Linked DNA regions of Homo sapiens: region 1 is linked to region 2. Evidence: promoter capture Hi-C in human tissues and cell types (Jung and others, 2019). All regions are on one chromosome and are shown on one strand. The core of a region is centred on a gene start or on the middle of the fragment in contact, and the rest is flanking DNA. Distances in the headings are between cores, read along the strand shown. Region 1 overlaps FAM219A (family with sequence similarity 219 member A). Region 2 holds the start of GALT (galactose-1-phosphate uridylyltransferase).

Region 1 (6,811 bases), core at 1,883-4,382, 230 kb after region 2:
GTGCCACCACACCTGGCTAATTTTTTGTCTTTTTGGAGAGTCACCTTCTTGCTATCTTGCCTAGGCTGGGTTTCTTATAATGCCTAAGCACAGCATGAAGTCAAGCTTTGGATGGGTAAGGCAGGCTCTAGAACCAGAGACTGAAACCTAGGGAGCACTCTCACCATCTCTTGTGTTTACTTCTTTCTGAACATCAGCTGTATTCTTGTTTCCCTCCCCAATGGCTCTCTCTGTTACCTAATCCACAGTCTTGAACTTTACATCTCCATTTAAGTCCCACTTCCCGATTCTGGGGGAGACTAATTTGCTCTGCCTCATCCAGGCATTTATCCAATTGGGTGGAATCACATAGAACCAGCATAGTTCCTAGAGGCTCACTCCTATGACCATGAAGATGGGAACAGCACCAACTCCCAAAGAAGGAAGGGAAGCCCCAGAGTTTTGCTGCTGTAGTATACGCAAAAGACTCACATACCGTAGAACATTATCAAGTGTTTTTCTCAAGGTGGTGAAACTAAAGGTGATTTGTTAAAATTTTAGCATGTATTACTTTATAGTAGAAAAATCTATAAAACTTTTCATAGCTACAGTTGTTACTAGGCCTGGGGGCAGTAGCACCCTCCACCATTTTGGTTGTCCCAGTGACAGATACCATTAAAGATACTAAGGCTTGGCGGTGCTTACTTTTAGTAATGAATTCTATACTAGCAGCTGTTTAAGCAGTCAGAAAATCCTCAGCTACTCCCAAGACCAGTTGGAGCTCCCAAACTCTAGCCCGAGTGTGATAATCCTTCCCATTTCTTTTTGGTGAACTTGACCATACCCCAAAATGCAAATGCTCTGCAGAAGTGTGGTGTGTGGAAAGAAAGAGTGTTTTCCCAACTGGGGCATCATAGTGAGACCCCCTCTCTAAAAAAAAAAAAAAATTTAGCCAGGCATAGTGGCTATGTGTGCTTATAGACCTAGTTACTCAGGGGGCTAAGGCAGGAGGTCACTTGAGCCCAGGAGGTCAAGGTTACAGTGAGCTGTGACAGCACCACTGCACTCCAGCTTGGATGACAGAGTGAGACCCTGTCTCTAAAAAACTAAAAGAAAAAATGACAAAGAAGGAAACAAAGAAAAGAAAGAGAAAAGATGCTTTCCTCTTCTGCATTCTACTGCCAGCTCATAGTCCAGAGCTGGAGAGTGGACACTCAGTGTGTTGACTTTATTTGAAATGGGTCTTCTTTTAGAGAAAAACTTAGAAGATTTGGGAGATTTAGACTGATAAGAGAAGACTCCCTGGGCCAGCCAGGATTCTCTGCCTTCTCTCCTAAATGTAGGCTTCACAAACTTTCTCTTCAGACTTTCTGTTCTCCCCCATTTGTAAGACCCAATAACACTTGGAGAGATCCTCTCCGTTATGTTTCCCTGATTCTCTTCCAGATCTCCCACAAAGACCTTATCCCTATAAGAAGTCTTTGTCTTTCCCTGTAAGTGGGATCCCTAAGGACCTTTTTATTTTGTTTTATTTTATTTTATTTTATTTTAAGTTCTGGGATACATGTGCAGAACGTGCAGGTTTGTTACATAGGTATACATGTGCCATGGTGGTTTGCTGCACCTATCCCCTAAGGATCTTAATATGTCCCAAAAGGACATAAGTCCTGGCCAATTGCCTGGCTCTGCAGGCAGTGCCTGGAGAAAACTTGGAGAAAGGGAGATGGGGAACAAAAACAGGAGCTACCCAACAGTGGGATTCAGAAATGGCCAATGTGTTGAGGTGTGACTTCAGGTCATACTGCAGAGTAAGAGCTGTCATTGGCCAGATAACTCATATGTTGAGGTGTGGAGTCAGAGAAGATGGGAATGCTTTAGGCTGAATGGACAGCCCTCTGCAGGGAAATAGAGCCATCTAACTAATGCATAGATTGCTACTAACTATTCTTGGACCAGAGGCAAGATTTCTACCCAACCATGAGGACTTAGTGAAGTTAAGTTATACTTGCTGGGTCTCCCTCTAAAAGTTGATACCTAAACATGCTTATTTCTACACACTGCCATGAGATGTTTTGGAATGGAATAGCCCTGAACAGGAAGACCACAGCCCCAAGTTTCTCAGCTGACCAATGGATAAATTTGTGATAAGGAACAGAGCTGGTCTTTGATGCTCTATTTTACTGTGCCCACTTGTCAGAGAGTGGCCTGAGCCACACACCTTCCCTGACTTCCCATTTCTTATCAGCACTATCCTTCCTGGCCCTGATTTCTGCTTTCTGCTTTTCTGTCTATCCTGCCTCCTGCTATTATCCAGGGAAAATAAACAGGTACAGGCACGACTTTATTCCAGAAGTAGCCTTCCAGCATTCTCCAACTCAGAACTGCCTCCCCCAATTAGCCTTAAAACTAAAGGAAAATTCTTCTGTGTTCTGTGAAGAAGGGTTAGATAGTATTGGTATGAGCGCTTTGCTTCTTCATACGTCACTCTAAATCCATTTCCATTTTCATCTTCCTAAGAATTAGTACTTGGAGGTGAGAACAGAGGTCACCTCTTCTTGGGAAGGCTGATATTGAATCATGTCTCTGCCCTGGATTATCATGTTCAGGCCACAAGACAATGGCAAGATTGTTCAGCACCACGGAGAGCGCCTTTCATCCTCGGGACTGGATCATGGCTGGGTGACAGATGAGGATTGTAGCTGAGAGCCCAGCCAGTCTGATCTCCTTCCACTCTGGCCAACTACCAAATATTCCTCTTTTTCCCAACCCCTTAGTGTTCACCTTTTTCCTTTTACTAATGAGTTTTTTTTAGGAAGGAACTCCCCTAACTTTCCACCCCCTTTCTGCCTCCATGTTATCTGATTCCCCCACCTCCCTTCCTCCTTTCCTCTCCTCACCTCACCTTCCTTACCTCCCTTCTGTTTTGTTAAGGAGACTCCCTCCCATGGTCCAAAGTTCTGGCTCCATCTGCTCATGATTCCTCAAAGACCATGCCCCCTCAAACATCTCCTTTTCTACACAGCTTCCTTCCCCTCAGTCTAGGACAGGTCTGGTATTCCCTAGCTCTAAAGGAATTCTAGAACTCTAAAGCTCTCTCTGGCTGCCACCCATTCTCATTCCTTCCCTTCTCAGTCTTGCTCTTTTAAAGAACGGCCTGTGGTCACTCTGTCTGCTTCTTCATCTCCTATTCTCTCCTAAATCCCTTGTCATCTGGGCTCTGTTTCTACTCTTCAGCTAAAATTGTGTTCACTGAGACTACCTATGACTTTCTTATTTCTAAATTTTGTCTTTATCTTATGGACCCACCTGCTTATTTGACACTGTTGATTTCTTCCACCTTGAAACTCTACTTGAATGGTTCCTAGTTCTACTCTTATTCCTCTCTGTTCCTACCCAGTCTCCTTCCTCCATTCATTATCTAAGGTTGGATATTTCCCAGAACTTCACCCTTGGTTTTTTTTTTTTTCACTCCGCTCATTCTGAGAGACTTTATTCTTCACTGTGACTTACATCACCACCAGCCCACACCCATTTTCTGAGCTCCCACACTTCAAATCCTACCAACTAGTGGTATCATCTGGGTGTCCAAAAGACACCTCAAAATTCAACCTGTTCCCAAATGAACTCATCTGATTTTTCCTTAGCAATGCAGTTGTGCCTTCTTCTGCATTTAATAACTTGTCTTAATAATTAGTACTCTTCCCAATTACCTCCAGACAGTAAACTAGGAATGTCCAGACCCTTTGTTTTACATTTTATATCAGAAGCCTGCCAATTCTACTGTTTTTTGACATCTTCCTTTCTGTTCTTTTATCTTCTGCTGCTGCTTGGTTCAGGCCCCTATTATCTCTTGCTGGCATTGTTGCAGTAGTTTCCTAATTATCCTTACCTCCAATCTCACTCCCTTCCCAGGCGTCTTGCACATGGCTATCGGAGGGTCCTTTTCCATCTCAAATCTGACCATGTTACTCCCTGCTTAAGGCTTCATTGGCTCCCCGTCATCTTCTGAGTAAAGAAAAAAATCAAAGCCCACCTTCCAGCATGATCTGAGCCCCCTCCTGACTCCACAAACTTGATTTCCTGCAACTTTTCTCCATACCTTCTGAGCTTCAACTATAGCAAAATGCCGACTATTCCTTGAATGTACTATGCTAGTTTTATGCTTCTGAGACTTTTCACATGTTCCCTGAATGTCCTTACTCCTCACTCTTAAACTAATTGGTGACCTAATGTTTTAAGATCTTTTCAAGTGTCTCCTTTGACCACCCTCCCTTTGTCCCATTCTCTCTACTTTTATATGGCTCTTGGTTACCTTTATTAATAATTATTGGGAACTTCTTAAAGATGGGACTGTTTTCTTTTCTTTCTTTCTTTCTTTTTTTTTTTTTTTTTGAGACGGAGTCTCGCTCTGTCGCCCAGGCTGGAGTGCAGGGGTGCAATCTTGGCTCACTGCAAGCTCCGCCTCCCGGGTTCTAGCCATTCTCCTGCCTCAGCCTCCCGAGTAGCTAGGACTACAGGCGCCCACCACCGTGCCTGGCTAAGTTTTTGTATTTTTAGTAGAGATGGGGTTTCACTGTGGTCTCGATCTCCTGACCTCGTGATCCACCCGCTTTGGCCTCCCAAAGTGCTAGGATTACAGGCGTGAGCCACCGTGCCCAGCCCTTTTTTTTTTATTTTTAAAGACAGGGTCTCAATATGTCAATATGTTGCGCAGACTGGACTTGAACTCCTGAGTTTAAGTGATCCTCCTGCCTCAGCCTCATGTAGCTAGGACTACAGGTGCATGCCAGCATGCCCAGCTGGGACTCTTTTCTATTTGTATTTGTGAGCCCTATCATCATTAAATAAATGAAAGAATTGTATCATGCTGGAGTGAGGGAAGAGAGGAAACAGGGTGCCCTGTGGTCAGGTCTTTCATCACCCTAAGGAGGGCACACCTTTTCTACAGATACCTTCATATATAAGCCAGGCTCCAACCTATGTGGTGTCAGGGCTACAGCTACAGGCCAGCCACTCCCAGGGCACACTGACCATGATAGTATAGGCCTCACTGAACCTATACTAATGATATCTTTACAGTTAACATGGATATAGTGCTAAGGGTATACTATGCTAAGGACTATTCTAACTGCTTTAATACATATTAACTCCTTTCATCCTCACAAGAACCCTTGAACTAGGTATTAGTGTTAGTCCCATTTATAGATGAGGAAGCTGAAACCCAGATTGTACAGCTACTAACTGGAGGAGCTGGAATTTGAACCTAGGCACTCTGGCTCCAGAGTCTGTGCTTTTAACCATTACAATCTTTCTTTCAGTCTGTGTGGCAAGGAGGATGGGATTGTGTAGATTGTCTTCCTTTAGTCAGAGCATCCCCTTGGCACTGAGAGTGAGGTCAGCCCATCCAAGCCATATGTCTGTTGCCCAGTGGAGGAGGAGTATAATTTGAATGTTGGGGAGGCAATCACATGTCTACTGGGTACTTATGAGAATCAGATAAGCTCGTGGATCTGAAGACATACATTAGGAACTACAAGACCCTCTACAAGTTTTATTTTTTGCCACCTAGAGTCCTACCAGAGTAGCCCATAAAAGTCTGCGGGTCATTCAGGAAAGCAGACTCTTCCATCTACTTATCCAGATCCTCCTTCTTAAGACTCCAGGCATGAGCCTTGAAGGTTCCACACTTTGGTTTTTTTCATTTGTTTCCCTTTTTTACCACCCAATTTTATCCTGCTTATTTGGGATCTCTTGGGTCCCAGCCTACCATTGTATTGACTGCACTACCCACAGCTCCAACAAGTGAGGCCAGCCAGCTAAAGACAGTTCATGAGTTGGTACAGCCCTGGGGCAGGGGGACAAGGGAAGAGGTTAATATGCAGACTGATGCTTGGGCCTGCAGGAATGGAGCAGCCTCCCAGAGGGCCTGTCTTTAGCTCCAAGCCCAAATCATGTTCTCTTCCCTATGTCCCTCCCTGCATGCTTTGAAAGGTTATTGACTCCATCACTGACTTTGGGTAAGACACTTCCCCTCTCGGCCCAGGTTTCCTCATTTTTAAAAAGAATGGGTGATGATATTTGTTGAAGCTGTTGATAGGTACCTATGATCTCACTATACTATTTTCTCTACTTGTTATAATTTCCACAATAAAACATTTTTAAACATTTAAAATCAAAAGATTTCAACCTTTTTTAAAAAATAGAACCTTTTCTCCAACCAAAAAGTTGCAACAGGCTGATATATAAATGAAATAAAGGTGAATCTACTCTTATTAAAGGGAAACCAGACCCACATCCTATAGCTTCCCCTTCACAGTCACTCAGGGAACACAGTTTAATGAAAATCAGTGGACCAAACTATTATAATTCTAAGGATTCTTCTGATGCTTTTGCCTTCCTCTAGCTATATTGGCTTTGCACTAGCCATTAGCCTATATATCCTGTCCCAGAAACAGTGAGGCTGGGCTATTAATCATCTCTGTAGTCTTCAGAGAATTTATTTGAAGGGTTGCAGAAACATGGGCTGCTGTTAGAGATGCATTTCAATGTCTGTCTCTGCTGAGTGTTTATTAATAATCTTGTTAATCTCCACTCTAGTTCCCGGATCTAGCTAACGCCTTCAGATGTCCTTGGGGGGCACTTTAAATTCTCCCTGATTTCTTGGAGCCAGGCACTTCCTTCTGCCTGGAGTCTTTTCTGATACTTACATTCATGAATATTTTACATTTAATCTCCCTGATTACATTGCCATGCAATGGTTGTGGTGCATTGGCTGCATTTCTAAGGGAAGACATAGAGGAAGCTCATAGTAAAGGCTTATGTTTGCAGGCAC
Region 2 (6,835 bases), core at 1-2,500:
ACTGAGGCCCATGCATCAACAACAGCCCGGATCTCAGGGACCGACATGAGTGGCAGCGTTACATCCGACCAGGGGTGGAAGCACATGACCTTACTGGGTGGTGACGGGAGAAAAGATAACCGAGAGGTAGGGCTTGGCTGTGCTACGGGCAGGGCCGAACCCCAATGCTGAGTCTCCAACTCTGGTTTGAAAGTTGTAAGAGGGGAAATCCATAGTTACCAGACTCCTCGAGCAGACTTTGCTTGGAAAAGGGGATGATCACTGGGTCCTGAGGTAAAGGAGTATCACTCTCTGCAGCAGAAGTCCCTCAAGAGGTCTAGCCACCCTCCTCCCCAGCAGCAGTTGGAGCCAGGTTACCTGGACTGGGGGCATCAGGCTGCAGAGCTGGGAAGTCGTTGTCAAACAGGAAGGTGCTATCGTACTGGGGATTCACCTACCGACAAGGATAGGCTAGAAGCACTCACTGCCCCATACCACCAGTTACCTGGTGGGCTTCAAAGACTGGACAGGCTACAAGGGAGTAGGGAAGGCCCACCCTAGGGGACCAAAAAGCTTGGTGGGATATGACCCAGAAGGAGGTTCACTATCCCTGTGGGTGGAGGACAGTTCTAAGAGGGAACTACTCCCCGTGGCCCAGCCTGCAGATGCAGGGCTCTACAGGCTTACCTCTCCGTTGGCTCGGATGGCCCCAGGACACAGAGGGTTGAGAGGGTCATGGCGGGGCACTGTCTTCAGAAGCTGGGGCTCCACTTGACCCTGCCAGGGCCGCTTCATGCGGTGAGCTGACACCAGCACCCACTCATCCTGCAGCGGGTTGTAGCGGATATGCTGATGGTCTGGGGGCAGACAGTCAAGATCAGTCCTCAGAGCTCTCTAGCTCCCTCTCTCCTGGGTCTCACCCACCAGCAGGCCCAAGCTCGGGAGCGCCCTCTCGGCCCTGTCCCGCTCAGGAGCTAGAGGCCCAGGATTGGACTTTCCCAGCGCCAATTGGCCTGCTGCTCGTACAGGCCTGCAGACTGTACGCCTTGTCGGTCTGGCTCGGGATGAGCGTTCCAACCTTCGGAGGGGACGAAAGCTTCCTAAGGAAGGGGAGGGCTCGGCTCCGCGCCCCAGCGAGTCCCTGCCGCGGTGCAGTTACCGTTTGCCCGGAAGGTTGCTGCTGCGGCGTCCGCCTCTGACGCCTGCTGGCGTTGCTGAGGATCGGTTCCACTGCGCGACATGAGGCCACCGGGGGATCCGCTGGAAAATCTGCAGGGCCGTGCCTCACCTTTCACTTTCTCCGTCCACACCACCCCTCCCCGCGCCGCCCCCGATGATTGGCCAGCCGCCAGCACGTGACTGACTGACTGGGCTGCCCTGCCACCTGGGGGCGGGGCTCAGAACAGCTGTGAACCCTGGGGGCCGACATTGATGATCCTACTTCACCCAGAGCTAGAGCCACTACACTGGAAGAACCTCTGTGAAAGCTGCCTACTGCAGAATCCTTGGGCTCCAGGATGCCTACAGGACTTGCTTGCTGCAATCATTCATTTGATCTTTCATTCAGCAAATATTTACCAAGCATCTAGCATGTGCTAGGCACCTAGGCTGTGTAAAGCATTGGGATGCACATGTCAGGCATGGCCTCTGCCCTGCCTGAGCTTACATTCTAGGGCGAGTAAGGATATGACCCTGGATCAACAGCGCCTCAGTCACCTGCTCAGTGGCTGTAGCGCAGGAGAGGCAAACTTGGTGGGGTCTGTGTGGAGTACTTCACCATAACCATATCCTATCCCCAAAAGCAAAAACAGATTTGGGAAAAAGGGCTAAGTAACCATATTCTCTTTTTCTCTCACTCTTGCTCTCCTTCCTCTCTCTCTCTCTCTCTTTTTCATACACACACCAAGACAGCACAAGAAGTGGGAGGGGTAAAAGGGCTATAAAAAAAAATCTAAAAATGGCCGGGCTCGGTGGCTCACGCCTGTAATCCCAACACTTTGGGAGACCAAGGCAGGCGGATCACAAGGTCAAGAAATTGAGACCATCCTGGCCAACATGGTGAAACCCCGTCTCTAGTAAAAAAAAAAAAAAAAAAAATTAGCTGGTCTTGGTGGCGTGCACCTGTAGTCCCACCTACTCGGGAGGCTGAGGCAGGAGAATCACTTGAACCCAGGAGGCAGAGGTTGCAGTGAGCCGAGATTGTGCCCATGCACTCTAGCCTGGCGACAGAGCAGACTCCGTCACAAAAAAAAAAAAAAAAGTACAAGAAAGTCTAAAAATGTGGAGAGTACAGGACTATCAGAAGCTCCAGCCACCATCTAGGTGGGGCCTAGTGTTTCCTTTACACATCCCCTTCCCTTTTCTAAATTTTCCTTGGATGGGACCAATTGGCTAACACTAGGATAAAATTCAAATTAATTCCTCCCCTGGTACTTTTGTTTGTTTGTTTGTTTGAGAGAGAGTCTCACTCTGCCACCCAGGCTGGAGTGCAGTGGCGTGATCTTGGCTCACTGCAACCTCCACCTCCCAGGTTCAAGCGATTCTCCTGCCTCAGCCTCCAAGTAGCTGGAATTAGAGCTGTGTGCCACCACACTGGGCTAATTTATGTATTTTTAGTAGAGACGGGGTTTCACATGTTGGCCAGGCTGGTCTTGAACTCCTGACTTCAAGTGATCCTCCTGCCTCAGCCTCCCAAACAGCTGGCCCCCAGTACTTTTAAAGAGCCATCTAAATATTGTCTAAACCTCTTCCCCATTTCACATTGGAGCCCAGAGGACTCAAGGTCACCCAGAGAATTAGTGGCCAAGCTGAGATTTGAATGCAAGTTTCCAAGGCTTTTCCCAGTGCTGTGAGATGCCTCTGAGGCTTCAGTGGAATGCAGGACAGAGACCCAGTGAGTTAGAAGTTGAGCCATAGCAGGGACATCCCTTCCCCCAATCAAGACCAAGCCAAGCCAGGTGTTTTGCAATTGAGCTGCAAAAACTAGGTCATGGGTCATTTACTTGATCTCTGCCCTAGGGTCCTCAGACTGGAATAGGAAGAGGCTACCTTCAGAGGTAGGGGGCAGGGAGCTGAGGACTGAGAAACAGGGGTTTTACCTGTCCCACTGGCTGTTCATATTACCCAAAGAGGTGAGACAGGAACAGGAGATCTGCTTTTCCATTCTCTCATTTATATTTGTTTGAGTGACTAGAGCTTGTAGACAGCTCCATTTTCCCAAGAACACCAGTGCTTCAGTGCCGCCCCCTGAATCATGCTAATTAAATCCTGACCCCCATCAGGAACATCTCTTCAGGAACATCTCCATAATTCTCCTCTATGACTCCCCAAGGTCATTTTTTGGAGGAAGAGGAGAATGACTAAGATGGGCCTAACCAGCTCCCTCCCTGCCAGATCCCAGAGGTGTTGTTACAGTAAAGAGATCCCAATCCAGACCCCAAGAGAGGATTCTTGGATCTCACACAAGAAAGAATTCAAGGTGAGTCCATAGTGTGAAGTGAAAGCAAGTTTATCAGGAAAGTGAAGGAATAAAAAAATGGCCACTCCATAGACAGAGCACCCCTGAGGGCTGCTGGTTATCCATTTATATATATATATATATATATATATATATATATATATATATATATATATATATATATATAATTTTTTTTTTTTAAGACGGAGTTTCACTCTGTTGCCCAGGCTGGAGTGCAGTGGCTTGATCTCGGCTCACCGCAACCTCTGCCTCCCAGGTTCAAGTGATTCTCCTGCCTCAGCCTCCCGAGTAGCTGGAATTACAGGCACCCACCATCATGACTAGCTAATTTTTGTATTTTTTAGAGACAGAGTTTCACCATGTTGGCCAGGCTGGTCTTGAACGCCTGACCTCAGGTAATCTGTCCATCTCGGCCTTCCCAAAGTGCTGGGATTACAGACATAAGTCACCACACCTGGAAAGGCCTGGAAAAGCTTTCTGAAAGACCAGATAGGGGAGGTGTAGGCCCAGATGATCCCAGAAAGCTGTTCCTGGAATGGGGAGCAGAGACCAAATTTGGGGGCTAATCCCTGCTGCCCAGGGTTCTTAGTGAATTGTCGAGTCGGGAATGCCACAGAAGCCAGAACCAATACAAAAACATGTTCCCTCAATCCTGTATTCTCCTCTAGATAATCCTTTCTTTATCCTTAATTTCTCTGCCAAGTTTCTTTTTTTTTTTTTTTTTTTTTTTTTTTAGATGGAGTCTCGCTCTGTCGCCCAGGCTGGAGTACAGTGGTGCAATCTAGGCTCACTGCAACATCCGCCTCCTGATTCAAGTGATTCTCCTGCCTCAGCCTCCCCTGTAGCTGGGATTACAGGCGTGCACCACCACACCCAGCTAATTTTTGTATTTGTAGTAGAGACAGGGTTTCACCACGTTGGCCAGGCTGGTCCCAAATTCCTGACCTCAGGTGATCCGCCTGCCTCTGCCTCCCAAAGTATTGGGATTACAGGCGTGAGCCACCGTGCCCGGCCTGCCAAGTTTCTTAAAAACAGAGGCCATCTTTCTGGTCTCTACTCTTAGCTGCATGGTATATTGTAACACATCTTTTGCCCTATATTTGTCAGGGTAAGTAATCTTAATTGCTGTAACAAACACTCCCAAAACTCAATGGCTTAGCACTACAGTCAATTCTGGGGGTAACAGGGAGCTCTGTTCCAAGCAGTATTTAGGGATCCAGGTGCCATCCATCTAGTAGCTATGCCATGTCCTAGGGTCTCAGAATACTCCACTAGAGATCCTCTATAACTACAGTAATAGACATGGGAAGAAAGAAAATGTAAAGAACTTCAAGCTGGGCATAGTACTATGTGCCTGTAGTCCCCCAGCTCTTGGGAAGCCAGGGTGGGAGATCACTTGAGCCCAAGAGTTTGATACCAGTCTGGGAGTGACATAGCACAATCCTGTCTCTTAAAAAGAGAAAGAGAAAAAAAAAAAAAAGAATTTCAGAGGAGACTTTAGGAGCCAGCCCTAGAAATGTCATACATCATTTCTATCTATATTTCATTGGCCAGAATGCAATCACATGATCCAGAGTAGACTGTGGAATGTAATCTAGCTGTCCAAGAGCAAAAGGAAATGGATTTGTGAATGTATAGCATTGTCTCTGCCACATGCCCCTACTGAGAAGTCTAATGATCATTTCCCATCATCTCATTGAATCTCACCATTATATTTCACTGTGTTAACCCTTCATTCCATCACTCTTTTTTTAATTTTTTTAGATGGAGTTTCGCTCTCATTGCCCAAACTGGAGTGCAATGGCGTGCTCTCAGCTCACCATAACCTCCGCCTCCCAGGTTCAAGCGATTCTCCTGCCTCAGCCTCCCGAGTAGCTGGGATTACAGGTATGCGCCACCACGCCTGGCTAATTTTGTATTTTTAGAAGAGATGGGGTTTCTCCATGTTGGTCAGGCTGGATCTTGAACTGGCAACCTCAGGTGATTCCCCTACCTCGGCCTCCCAAAGTGCTGGGATTACAGGTGTGAGCCACCGTGCCTGGCCCATTCCATCACTCTTGAGAAAGAAAAGAAACTTTTTATCTGAGAAATGCCAGCCTCTTTTAATTATCAGGCCCAGAGAGGCATTAAAATGTGACAGCATGGGCCTGGCGCGGTGGCTCACGCCTGTAATCCCAGCAATTTGGGAGGCCAAGGTGGGCGAATCACGAGGTCAGGAGTTCGAGACCAGCCTGGCCAACATGGTGAAACCCTGTCTCTACTAAAAATACAAAAAATTAGTTGGGCATGGTGGCGGGCGCCTGTAATCCCAGCTACTCAGGAGGCTGAGGCAGGAGAATTGCTTGAACCTGGGAGGCAGAGGTTGCAGTGAGCCAGGATCATGCCACTGCACTCCAGCCCCGGCGACAGTGCAAGAGACTCCGTCTCAAAATAATAATAATAATAATAATAATAATTTTAAAAAGAAAAAAAAAGGCCGGGTGCAGTGGCTCACACTTGTAATCCCAGCACACTGGGAAACCAAGGCGGGCGGGATCACTTGAGGTCAGGAGTTTGAGACCAGCCTGGCCATTATGGTGAAACCCTGTCACTACTAAAAATACAAAAAGCTGAGCATAGTGGCAGGTGCCTGTAATTCCAGCTACTTGGGTGGCGGAGGCAGGAGAATCGCTTCAACCCGGGAGGCGGAGGTTGCAGTGAGCCGAGATTGCGCCACTGCACTCCAGCCTGGGCGACAGAGTATGACTCAGTCTCAAAAAAAAAAAAAAAAAAAAGTGACAGCATGTAACAGCAGTCATATCTCACCTTCCCCCACCCCCATGGAGCCAAATAATTACCCCTTGAAGCCACTTGCTATGTGGGCTCTAAATTGATACCACATAGCCATAAAATGCCATAGTCTAGACACCATAACTCATACCCTATAGTTCAACAAGGTATAGCCAATCACTAATCAATGTTGTTTCTGTAAGCCAATGAGAATTCCTGTTAAACAATTTTGTGTCAGCCCACTCCTTGTCCTCTTTTGCCTTTAAAAACTTGCTTGTGGCTGGGCATGATGGTTCATACCTGTAATTCCAGCACTTTGGGAGGCCAAGGCAGGATGATCCCTTGAGCCCAAGAGGTCAAGGCTGCAATGAGCTGTGATCGTGCCACTGAACTCCAGCCTAGGTAACAGAGCAAGATCCGGTCTCAAAAAATAAAAATAGGCCGGGCGCGGTGGCTCACGCCTATAATCCCAGCACTTTGGGAGGCCGAGGCGGGCAAATCACGAGGTCAGAGTTCAAGACCAGCCTGGCCAACATGGTGAAACCCCATCTCTACTAAAAATACAAAAAAATTAGCTGGATGTGGTGGCAGGTGCCTGTAGTCCCAGCT

Evidence for each region. The method cuts DNA at HindIII sites, captures the fragments that hold promoters and counts their contacts. A contact is called where the count stands out against the background at its distance.
Region 1: a fragment that was not itself captured here is called in contact with the fragment with the promoter of GALT in region 2 in 1 of the 25 tissues and cell types used here (mesendoderm cells).

What each region holds. Positions count from the first base shown.
Region 1 is chr9:34,409,237-34,416,047 of GRCh38, reverse strand. All of the region lies in intron 1 of FAM219A (family with sequence similarity 219 member A), which reads left to right. Among named protein-coding and RNA genes, the nearest start is that of SPMIP6, 15 kb to the right of the region's middle. The HindIII fragment of the contact is 9,827 bases long and covers 1-6,811 here.
Region 2 is chr9:34,641,090-34,647,924 of GRCh38, reverse strand. GALT (galactose-1-phosphate uridylyltransferase) reads right to left here and starts at 1,250. Exons shown (of 11, transcript NM_000155.4): 1 at 1,139-1,250; 2 at 667-836; 3 at 358-433; 4 at 220-268; 5 at 1-93. The coding sequence starts at 1,220. RefSeq lists enhancers at 646-825, 1,396-1,505, 2,719-3,013 and a silencer at 2,719-3,013. The HindIII fragment of the contact is 1,689 bases long and covers 815-2,503 here.